Linked DNA regions of Homo sapiens: regions 2, 3 and 4 are each linked to region 1. Evidence: promoter capture Hi-C in 16 types of primary human blood cells and fetal thymus (Javierre and others, 2016). All regions are on one chromosome and are shown on one strand. Each heading gives the region's core, a stretch centred on a gene start or on the middle of the fragment in contact. The rest is flanking DNA. Distances are from core to core; before and after follow the strand shown.

The links. Contacts are between HindIII fragments. The CHiCAGO score rates a contact against its expected background, and 5 or more counts as called.
Region 2: a contact is called between a fragment that was not itself captured here and the fragment with the promoter of SETD9 in region 1, in 2 of 17 cell types (neutrophils and total CD8 T cells). The highest score is 6.4, in neutrophils.
Region 3: a fragment that was not itself captured here is called in contact with the fragment with the promoter of SETD9 in region 1 in 1 of 17 cell types (total CD8 T cells); the score reaches 5.1 in total CD8 T cells.
Region 4: a contact is called between a fragment that was not itself captured here and the fragment with the promoter of SETD9 in region 1, in 1 of 17 cell types (monocytes). The highest score is 6.5, in monocytes.

Annotation. Positions count from the first base shown.
Region 1 is chr5:56,907,933-56,910,845 of GRCh38, reverse strand. SETD9 (SET domain containing 9) reads right to left here and starts at 1,250. Exons shown (of 6, transcript NM_153706.4): 1 at 1,103-1,250. The coding sequence starts at 1,200. RefSeq lists enhancers at 1-589, 685-734, 1,525-1,614 and silencers at 775-984, 1,165-1,374. The HindIII fragment of the contact is 6,770 bases long and covers 1-2,913 here.
Region 2 is chr5:58,464,227-58,467,139 of GRCh38, reverse strand. No RefSeq gene overlaps it. Among named protein-coding and RNA genes, the nearest start is that of PLK2, 5.6 kb to the right of the region's middle. RefSeq lists an enhancer at 117-166. The HindIII fragment of the contact is 963 bases long and covers 1,037-1,999 here.
Region 3 is chr5:55,706,886-55,709,798 of GRCh38, reverse strand. All of the region lies in intron 2 of SLC38A9 (solute carrier family 38 member 9), which reads left to right. Among named protein-coding and RNA genes, the nearest start is that of SLC38A9, 4.0 kb to the left of the region's middle. The HindIII fragment of the contact is 2,357 bases long and covers 248-2,604 here.
Region 4 is chr5:55,897,894-55,900,806 of GRCh38, reverse strand. IL31RA (interleukin 31 receptor A) reads right to left here. Exons shown (of 15, transcript NM_139017.7): 8 at 675-891. Among named protein-coding and RNA genes, the nearest start is that of IL31RA, 48 kb to the right of the region's middle. The HindIII fragment of the contact is 7,038 bases long and covers 1-2,913 here.

The DNA.
Region 1 (2,913 bases), core at 1-2,500:
AGCCAGAGGCAGAAACGAAGTTCAGCTCTTTCCCGTACTACACCCAACAGCCAAGCTGAATGTCATCACAATGAGAATGAATGACCTCACATTCAATGGCTTTTTAAAAATGGCCTTGTAGTTTCAAAGACAAATTCAACATCGTATACTTTGTGACACTCCCTCCAGGACGACTAACGTCTTCAATGACTGCACCTCTTATTTCCATAATCATTATCTTTTTGTACTAACTGCATTATTTTTACTTGAACAAAAAGGTTGTAATTCCCGCCTCACGGTTCCGAGTCATGATACAACTGATCTCCTGTTTCCCTAGCATGCAACCTTCCGGAAACCGCTTTGTTTCCCTATTTGTCGGACACTGACTTCAGGGAGGCCCGGTCGGCCTCTTTGGTGAGCACGGTGTTGAGCTGATCACTGGTGCGCCCTTAATAACGCCGGCGGGACTCACCCCAATCCGAAACCCACCATCCCGACGTGCTTTTGAGTGGCGTTCTGCCCGTTCTTAACGCGCGAGCTACTGCACGCTATTCTCACAGCCGGGATGGGCTTCTTTAACCACGTGAAGTACTTGTATGAACTATGAAAATAAACCCTGGCTTGGCTTTTCTGAGGAAGTTCAAGCACCTAATTAACCCCTGGTGGAGAAAAAGCCACGCACTCTCACGCGGTAAGGGCAGTCTTTTTAAAAAGTTTCCATTTTTGCCCAGATACAAGCTCCCCAGTCAGTGCCGAACGCAACAGGGAAGAACAGGCGACACATCCGGCTGGCGAGCTCGGCCTCGCGGGCCCGGCAGCGCAGCGGACACTGGGAAAGAGGCCATAGGCCCCGCCCACCTGAAGCCACCGCCCACTTCAGGCTTCCAGCGGGCCTCGGACTCCACCAACCTCGGCCCCGCCCGCCTCTGGCCCGCGTTCCTTAAACCCCTCCGAGGCCTCAGTCCCCGCCCACCCGGCCCGCCCACCTCAGTCCCTGCCCACCCGGGCCCGCCCATCTCAGGCCGGCAGTCAGCCTCAGGCTCTCCGCTTTGCGTCCCGCCGCCGTGGTGGCGTCTGGGAACCGAAGGCAGGTGCCCCTCGTTCTGCCGTCCCGCCCTCTCACCTCGGGTTGTGGCTTAGGTTCAGTGCGATCCAGGGAACGAAGCGGTACTTGTAACGGCGCCATCGCTGCCACAGGCCCCGCAGCAGACGGCCAGGCATGGCTGCCCCGCGGGGCCGTGACCAGGACGGCGCGGGGAAGGCGGATCGAGGCCTCGGGCCCGCCCCGGCCCGGGAGGAGAGGGGGCCGCGCTCGGCCGCCTTCCCCTGGCTCCGCTCTCAGTGTTCCTGGCACCGCCTGACTTCTGTTGCTCTGGGGCTTCGTCCTTCCCCTTTCCTGACCTCACCTCTCTGAATGAGAGGCGCGTAGAGCTGGAAGGAGGTCCCCTTGACCACTTTTTCTTTCTCCGGTCGCTCGGGTGCTTCCGTGGGCGCACACAAGCGCTAGCCCTGGTTGCGGGCGAAGGGTCACCGGGCCTCAGGGGCGAACCCGCCCCCGAGACCGCGTCCCAGGAGCGGACCGCCTAGTTTCTCTGTCACGGCTGTCTGGCCTGCCCCTTTGTCCCGGCCGCGCTCTGTGTTCCATCCTCCGTCCACTTGAGCTCTGCCTCTTCCTCGACGTTCTCTCCCCTTCTCTCCGTGGCCCCAGAGCAGCCCGACTTCGGGAACCCGAGTTTCAGTCCTCCCCAGACAGCAGCCCTTCTTCTGCGTGAACCCGTGTTCCCAAAGTTACCAGTTTGGGCGTTTTGCGAATATTTACACGTAAAAAAACAAAGTGTCATGATTCCCTGTTTTCACTCGTTTTTCTCTTCATTGACCCAACCATTCAAAGGCAAAACTACATGGACAAATGTTTCTGAAAAACAGCTTTGTTGAGGAATGGTTGGGATACAATAAACTGCACATATTTAAAGTGAACAATTTGATAGGTTTTCGACACCACAGCCAAGATAGTAATCCAGCCCCTCCCCCAGTCCCCAAGCAACCACTGAGGTGCTTTTGTCCTTTTAATATGGTCTTCGCTTCAATTTGGAAACGTTTTGTCTAGAAGTTCTGCATCTGTGTTCGTGAGAGATATTGTTTCGTAGTTTTCTTGTAGTGTCTTAATCTGGCTTTGGTATTTAGGCTAATGTTGACTTCATAGGATGAGGTGGGAAGTAGTCCCCCATAGGTGAAATTTAAAAGGAACTTTACGACCGCTCCTCCCCAACACCCAGATGCATGCACACGCACACACATATTTAGAACAGGTTTGGACAAAGTTCAGTTTTAAGGGGGGCAAACTACAGGAATCCCTTAACCATATTCAAATCACCAAGTGTTTATTGACAGATAAATACGTTGGTATCATTTCCTCTATTCTTTGCCTGAGAGTGAGGTTGGATCCTAAACTATTGAAATTGAACGGCTCAGATCTAATAAAAACTCAGCCAAGGCCGGGCGCAGTGGCTCACGCCTGTAATCCCAGCACTTTGGGAGGCCGAGGCGGGTGGATCCCCTGAGGTCAGGAGTTCGGGACCAATCTGGCCAACATGGCGAAACCCCGTCTTTACTAAAAAAGAACAAATACAAAAATTAGCCGAGCGTTGGTGGCACGTGCCTGTAGTCCCAGCTACTCAGGAGGCTGAGGCAGAAGAATCGCTTGAACCTGAGAGACGGAGGTTGCAGGGAGCCGAGATCCGCCACTGCACTCCAGCCTGGGTGACAGAGTGAGATCCCGTCTCAAAAAAAAAAAAAATTCAGCCAATCGCCAGTAGCTGCGGGACTAATTTGTTCTATTCTGAAAGAAATAAAGAGAAAGAGTATCTACCAATGTCTCTATTTCGTTCATATCATATAGAATGTTAGCAAACTCTAGAGGCTTTCTCTCAGACT
Region 2 (2,913 bases), core at 269-2,768, 1.6 Mb before region 1:
CCCTCCCCTTCCCTCACAGCAGCTAGGAGGCAGCTTCCTTCACTTTCGAGGTCCAGAGCTGAGTCATCTTCTTCATTGCCTGGTGGTGACAGCCTCCTAGGTGCTTGTCCTCTCACTGTCTCTCTCTTGTCAATTCCCCAAGTCAAAAGCAAATTTTTAGAAAGGCAAACAAAAACAGTGCTTATTTGTTGTTCTTTCTCCCTGTCAGTTCCGTTCAGTTTTGTTGAATTCCTTTCAGTAAACCAGATGCTGGGAACAGTATCTCTCCACTCTACCTTGGGTTAAACTCCTTCTTGTCCATCTCTCCTGCCTTTGGTAGTTTTTCTTCTTGCCCCTTCCTTTCTCCTGAATATTAAATAATAACTAGCATTATAGATTTCCCACCATGTGACAGGCACTGTTCTAAGCACATTCTATGCATTGGCTTGTTTAATCATTATAACAATTGTCTTAGCCCCTCTGGGCTGCTATAACAAAATATCACAAAACTAGGTGGCTTATAAACAATAAATTTATTTCTCACAGTTCTAGGAGCTGGGAAATCCAAGATCATGTTGCTAGCAGATTTGGTATCTGGTGAGGGCCAACTTCCTCACAGATGGCACCTTCTTGCTGTGGTCTCACATGGTGGAAGGGGCAAGGAGTATCTCTTCAGTCTCTATTATGAAGGTATTAATGCCATTTATGAAGGCTCTAACCCCATGAGCTAATCACCTCCAAAGACCCACCTCTTAATACCATCACAATGTAGGTGAGAATTTCAACAAATGAATGTTGTGGGAACAAAAACATTCATACCATAGCAACAACCTTATAAAATGTTGTCATCCTCTTGTTACAGAAGAAGAAACTGAGACATAGAGAGTTTCAGAAATTTGTGCAAGATCAAATCTAAGAGGTATCTTGTTTTCTCAATAGTTTTATATTTATAAATGTGTCTATCTAACAAATAATTGAGTTTTTACTCTGTCATGTACTATTCAAGGCATGGGGAATATAGCATTAAACTAAGAAATGTACCTGTCCTCATGAAGCTTTCATACCTGTGGGGAAGAAAAGTAATAATCAATTAAGCAATATAAAGTATTTTCGCTGCACCCTATACTTATAGTATAAAGTGTGTATTGCAAACCTTGATGAGATGATAGAATGTAACAGAGAGTGGAACACAAAGTTCTCTTTGATGAGCCAAATCACATCCTTAAAAAATGTTTTTATATGTATTTTTAAATAGTAATGTATTCTTCTGGTTCAGACATTAAAACACATAAAAATGATCAGAAAAGTAAATAATCTTCTCACAAAAATATGTAAACAAGTAAACAGAAGAAAACCTATTATTATTAGTTTGCTATTAATCCTTCCCAAAAGTTTATGCTTTATGCATAATTAAGGCTATAAAAATATGTTATTTTCCCCTCATTTTTTATTCCAAGGAAACATATTTTACTATACCATACACTATCCTATACTTGCTTTCCACAGTATTTATTTTGGAGATTTGTGTGTGTGTGTGTGTGTGTGTGTTTTGAGGCGAAGTCTCACTCTTGTCCCCCAGGCTGGAGTGCAATGGTGTGATCTCGGCTCACTGCAACTTCCGCCTCCCGGGTTCAAGCGTTTCTCTTTTTTTTTTTTTGTATATATATTTATTGTACTTTACGTTCTAGGGTACATGTGCACAACATGCAGGTTTGTTACATATGTATACATGTGCCGTGTTGGTGTGCTGCACCCATTAACTGGTCATTTACATTAGGTATATCTCCTAATGTCAAGCGATTCTCTTGCCTCAGCCTCCTGATTAGCTGGGATTACAGGCACCTACCACCACACCTGGCTAATTTTTGTAATTTTAGTAGAGACGGGGTTTCACCATGTTGGCCAGGCTGGTCTAGAACTCCTGACCTCAGATGATCGGCCTGCCTCAGCCTCCCAAGTTGTTGAGCCACCGCGCCCGGCCTATTTTGGAGATTTTTTTCATATCAATACTTAAAAAGCTTCTTCATTTTGTTTTTACAACTGCCTACATTTTCACGGCATGAACACATCATCATTTAACCAGTTTTCTATTGATGGCCACTTAGGTTGTTTCTAATCTTTAATTATTACAAGCAACACTGCAGTGAATAACCTTATACATGAGGGGTCAGCAAACTGTTTCTGTAAAGGGCTAGGTAGCAAATATTTTAGGCATTGCAGGCCATTTGGTCTCTGTCACAGCTGAACTCTGCCATTGTAGCATGAAAGCAGCCATAGACAATATATCTACATAAGCAAATGGGCATGGTTGTTTTTTGAAAATTATTATTTTTTCTTTTAATAGGTTTTTGGTGAACAAGTGGTATTTGGTTACATTAAGTCCTTTAGTGGTGATTTCTGAGATTTCGCTGTACCCATCACTCAAGCAGTGTACACTGTACCCAATGTGTAGTCTTTTTAAAAAAAATTTTTTTATTATACTTTAAGTTCTGGGATACATGTGCAGAATGTGCAGGTTTGTTACATAGGTATACACGTGCCTTGGTGGTTTGCTGAATCCATCAACCCGTCATCTACATTAGGTATTTCTCCTAATGCTATCCCTCCTCTAGGCCCCCACCTCCTGATAGGCCCCAGTGTGTGATGTTCCCCTCCTTGTGTCCATATGTTCTCATTGTTTAATGCCCACTTATGAATGAGAACATGCAGTGTTTGGTTTTCTGTTCCTGTGTTAGTTTGCTGAGAATGATGGTTTCCAGCTTCATCCATGTCCCTGCAAAGAACATCAACTTATCCTTTTTTATGGCTGCACAGTATTCCATGGTGTATATGTGCCACATTTTCTTTATCCAATCTATCATTCATGGGCATTTGGGTCAGCTCCAAGTCTTTGCTACTGTGAACAGTGCTGCAATAAACATACATGTGCATGTG
Region 3 (2,913 bases), core at 177-2,676, 1.2 Mb after region 1:
CACACACGCCCAGCCAGTTAGCCTTAGATTTCTAATCACAATCTTAAATACTATATATTTCAGTTACATACATAAAATAATATGCTTTTAATTGTGATTTTATAATACTCTAAATACTTACAATAAAGGGTAAACTCAGCATAGGAGGATGGAATACCAACCTGAACTACAAATTGAAATAGTATTGTTTAGTATTTTTTTTTTCTTTTTGGGGTTAGGGGCAGAGTTTTGCTCTGATACTCAAGCTTTAGTGCAGTGGCACTGTCATAGCTAACTGTTACCTTGAACTCCTAGGTTCAAGCAATCCTCTTGCTTCAGCCTCCCAAAGCATTGGGATTACAGGCATGAGCCACCACACTGGACCTATATGGTATTTTTTAAAAAGTATATATGGGCTTAAAAGTTAAAAAAAAAAAATCACTTAGAGGTTAAAAATGTCTACCAGGCCTGCATTTTGTAACATACTTAAATTTCTGTCGTTTGCTAGGGTTTTTTTCTTTCTTACCACTGAAATATAACTTGAGAGCATTTAGTGTTCCCATTGTAGAAGGAGAGATTCTTTGGTACCACAGCGTTGCTTTGGTAATTTTTTTGTGAGACCACACTATCCTCCAGCACTGTCAAATTTAACGCCTTTTGAAGCATTTATTGATCAGGTTGGAAGCATGTTCCAACTGTCACATCAGAATAGGAGCATTATAGATCCTATTGGCTAACCAGTAAATGATTCATCAGGAAGAGATTTAGATAAGTTTGTTATTGGAGTTTATAGCTGTTACAGACTAATACAGAAGAAAATATATATACATAGCATAACTGCTTCCACCAGGGTGACTTTTTTGTGGTGTGGTTCCATTTGCTTTTATGTTGGCATACTACAGAGGTGAGTAAACTATGACCAAATTTGGCCTGCTGACAGATATATTTTTTTCATAAAGTTCTATTGGAACACAGCCATGCACACTCAATTGCCTTTCATGCTAACAGGTAGAATTGAGTAGCTGCAGAAACTATATGGCTCAAAAAGCCTGAAATATTTATTATCTGACCCTTTACAGAAAAAAATATGTCAACCTCTAGCCTAGGACACTGAGTATAAATGTAGTATCTGAAACTCTATAACATACACAAAAGTATTCAGTAATATTCATTTTTAGTCTCTGAGAAAGAACATATATAATAGTTGTATGTGGGTCCATAGTCACATTTATTTGGGCACAAGCTAGTGTATTCTATTGCAGATTGATGCTAGCATCTTGGCATAGATTCTATAGATTTATTTTTGCAAAGAATTGTGAAAAGACATTTCTGAGCCTAGTATGGAAAGGGCTGATATTCTTTGAGATACGCCAATAATCACAGTCAATACCTTTTTAAAATAATGTCATACCAGTTTACTTTGATTGCTCTCTATGTCCTTTTTACGGAGAGAAGTGCTTCAGTACAGGCACTAACATTTTTTGTTCTTTTAGAGACAGTCTCACTCTGTCACCTGGGCTGGAATGCAGTGGTGCCATTGTAGCTCGCTGCAATCTCGAACTCCTGGGCTCAAGCAGTTCTCTCACCTCAGCCTCCCGAGTAGCTGAGATTACAGGCATGAGCCACCATGCCTGGCTCAGTCACCAACATTTTAAATAAAAGTCGAAAGTACCAAGCAAGTCAACTAAGCTGTTCATTCCCTACTGGGACCTATCTCAGTCTCTTGGTGCTGCTCTAATGAAATACTTGAGGCTAGGTAATTTATAAACAATAGAAATTAATTTCTAGCAGTTGTGGAGGCTGGGAAGTCCAAGATCAAGCCACCTGCAGATTTGATGTTTGGTGAGGACCCGGTCTCTGCTTCCAAGATGGTGCCTTGGTGCTGTGTCCTCACATGGGGGAAGGGATGGAAAGACAAAAGGGATCTAGCTAGTTCCCTTCAAACTTTTCATAAGGTTACTAACTCCATTCATAAGGGTTCTGCCTTCCTGACATAATTACCTCCAAAAGGGTCTACCTGTTAATACTATAACATTGGCAATTAAGTTTCAACATATGAATTTTGGACGGGACACAAACATTCAAATCATAGCTGGACTCCTTATTAAAACCAATCTTAAACAATTAGAGACTCATTTAATGACTTAGATTTGACTTAGTGGTCTTGCATCTGGGACTTTGTTTTAAAACTCAGAGATTGAGTGAGATGTTAAAAGTGATTATGTCTGGGTTTTGTTTTGAGACAGAGTCTTGCTCTGCAACCTCTGCCTCCTGGGTTCAAGCAATTCTCCTGCCTCAGCCTCCCGGGTAGCTGGGACTACACGTGTGTGCCACCACTGCTGGCTAATTTTTGTACTTTTAGTAGAGACAGGGTTTCACTATGTTGGCCAGGCTGGAATATGTCTGTTTATGTCATCTTGTATATTTAGCCCCTACCAAATTATATCAATGTAATGTCTGACAAATTAATACTATAGAAGTATTTAGCATTTTTGTTAATCATTGATAAACTATTCTGCATTATCACCTATGTAATATTTGCTGTGGAACTCTAATTCACCTCTCAACCTAAGTCATCAAACTTCGGGATATTTTATACTTCTCATCAAGACATTCAAAAAAGCTTTAAGACTAGGCATGGTGGCTCATGCCTATAATCCCAGCACTTTGGTACTTTGGGAGGCTGAGGCAAGAAGATTACTTGAGGCCAGGCTGGGCAACATAGTGGCGCACAGCTGGGATCCCAGCTATTTTAGAGGCTGAGGTGGGAGGATAGCTTGAGCCTGGCGGGAGGAGGTTGCAGCAAGCCCAGATGGCACTACTGCACTCCAGCCTGGGTGACAGAGTGAGACCCTGTCTCAAAAAAAAAAAAAGAAAGCATATCTGTTGTCACCTGAAATTCTCAGGAGCAACGAGTACAGTTGTTTCTGTTGT
Region 4 (2,913 bases), core at 177-2,676, 1.0 Mb after region 1:
AATTTATAGAATAAGGGATAGTACTAAGTTTGAAAGAGAAAAATAAGAGAGAAAAGAGGAAATCTATTGTCTGCAATTCTTTGAATGAAAGTTTTTTATTCCAAAACAGGATAAATATGAGTTTGCCTGGGAGCAGTAATATGTCAAAAACTACTTAACCAAAAGTGTAATGAACAATTTATTGGCAAGTATAAACACTAGAATTTTTCCATAGTGACAAATGGAAGGGGAAAAGGAAGAAAACAGGACAGCAAGCATTAAACCAAGGATGGGGATGTGGTGAGTACCCATTTGTGGGGAGAAGAGTTCAAGGGCAGCTTCGGTCACGGAGGACAAATGTGAGAAATAGGACAGTTTCATAGGACTTGACCCAGCTTACATTCACCCAGACCAGAACAAATCAAAGCTGCACACAGAACTTCTAGGTGTATGGCTTTGTATTCTGTAATTTATAAAGTCTCTGATTTTTAACGCAGGCTTTGTTCCAAAGGAACATGACTTCAAGTGATTCATTAATTACCAGCAAATTCTCATTGCTTCACCACAACCTAAAAGGTTCCCACTCCATTTTCATTTTGACTCAAGAGAAACAGCCACCCTTGAGAGCACAGGGACTGCTCCTTGGCCAATTGATGGGACCAGGCACCTAAGGAAGAAGTTGATGCTCTACTTACATTTTTCTTGAATAGCTGGAATCCTCAGGGTGGCCACTGGAGACTTCCCAAGAGAATTATAAGAAATCATAGACACCCAAAAGCTCTCGCCTCCCAGATGCAGTTCAAGCTGCTGGTTAGTAGTGTTCATTGTTTCTGTGAGGTTAGTGTTGCTTTCTGGATAGTACCATATGTTGTAGCCAAGTGTTTTCTCTAGGACTGGGGCTCCTCTTGCCTTCTGAACCCAAAGAAAACAAAATTTATTGCCAATAACAAAGAAAAAGAAAGGCATTGAGACAGTGAGAAGCGGTGGGGGTGAGGGTGGGGAATAAGGCTAACTATTAGATACTAAACTACAATCAGGTAATTACCCTCCAGGGATGAATAAGATCCTGGGCTGTGATAGTAACACTTCAAGTGCCAGAAGAGGGGATTTACTAAATTTCATCTAATTCCATGAGGCTAAACTAGAAGAATGCCCAAAACAATGTAAACAAGCCACCCTTATTTCCTTCTGCCTGTATCTTTCGCTCCATCCCACTCGTGTAAAGGAGTAAGGGCTAAAAAGCTGACACATTCCCTCTCAGCCCATCCAAAGTCTGGTCTGGCTCTGAGTCATCTCTTGCCTGGAGTATCCAAAGGTTGGAGAGTACCCTATGCCCTAGTCTTTTATTTCCATGCCTCTCCCTCTGAGAAGGGAGCCAGCTTCCCTGGACCAGGCGCCCCAGCCAGGCGTCCTAGCTAAGAGGGCCGCACTGCCAGTCCCAAACCCTTGGCGAGAAGTTTAAGGTGGAATCCTGAGGACTTTAAGCTAAACTCTTATTTTCAGCCTTGAACTTGGGCCCACTCACCAGACATTTGCCTAGGAGACAGTATTTCCCAGAATTTATAGGGCTTCCCCTTCTGTTACTGATTATACACATAGATGGAGCGTAATGCCTGAATATAAGTCCAGGACTTATAAGTGGGACTTTAGCAGGCACTTCGTCCCACTGCCTTCCCAGTTCAGGAATTTCCTTTACTTTTATGTCTAGGCATAAAAGGTCAGCTAGAATCTTCCTAATGACCAGGAGCCTTTTATCTCTCAAGACGACCCATTTTCTATTTTATTGTATTTATTTATTTATTTTGAGACAGAGTCTCTCTCTGTCGCCCAGGCTGGAGTGCAGTGGCCTGATCTTGGCTCACTGCAACCTCCGCCTCTTGGATTCCAGCAATTCTCCTGCCTCAGCCTCCCGAGTAGCTGGGATTACAGGTGTGCACCACCATGCCCGACTAATTTTTGTATTTTTAGTAGAGACAGGGTTTTGCTGTGTTGTCCAAGCTGGTCTTGAACTTCTGACCTCAAGTGATCCCCATGCCTTGGCCTCCCAAAGTGCTGGGATTACCGGCCCAGTCCACGCCCAGCCCCATTTTCTTTTTTAAATAACACATATTCTTTTTAAATAACATATTAATATGTTATTTAAAATCTTTTTAAAAAACATATTAATATGTTATTTAAAATCTTTTTAAAATAACATTAATATGTTATTTAAAATCTTTTTAAAATAACATATTAATATGTTATTTAAAATCTTTTTAAAATAACATATTAACATTTTAAATAACTTTTTTAAATAACATTCTTTTTAAAATAATAAAAATTGAGATACAATTCACATTCCATAAAATTCACTGTTTTAATGTGAGTTCAATGGCTTTTATTAATAGTATGTTCAGTCATGCAACTATCACTATTATTTAATTTTAGAGCATTTTAGTACATTCTTTTTTAACCAACTCAAATTCTTAGAGAGCTCTTTCCTTTTGAAGGTGCGGGGGGGCGGGGGGGTGGTGTGGAGAAAAAGACCAGACCCAACAGGCGACGGGGAGGAGGCGGGCACTGAAATCCATCTTCTCTACTTCGCAAGCTGCCCTACTTGGCCCTTCGCCACTGCTATGTAGCTAAGACCACATGTGGGCGTGTGAGGTTGTTGGCTTTCCTCCCCCAAAAATGTGTTGCCACAATCATTTGTTTTCATACTTGATGGCTGAGAAAGACAGCACAGCATCTGGGATTGATTCTCTAGGATTCCCCGCCATCTCTGGCTGTTGTCCCATGCGGCGGCAGCACCGCCTCCGCAACCCAGGGAGTCCCATAGCCCTGCGGGTGTGGAGGGAGTGGGCGATGGTGCGGGAGCCTCCAACCCTGAGGTAATTGGAATGTCATCTGGCAAAGCAGGACACTTGCTCCATTTTCAACAGGATTTTGAACTTG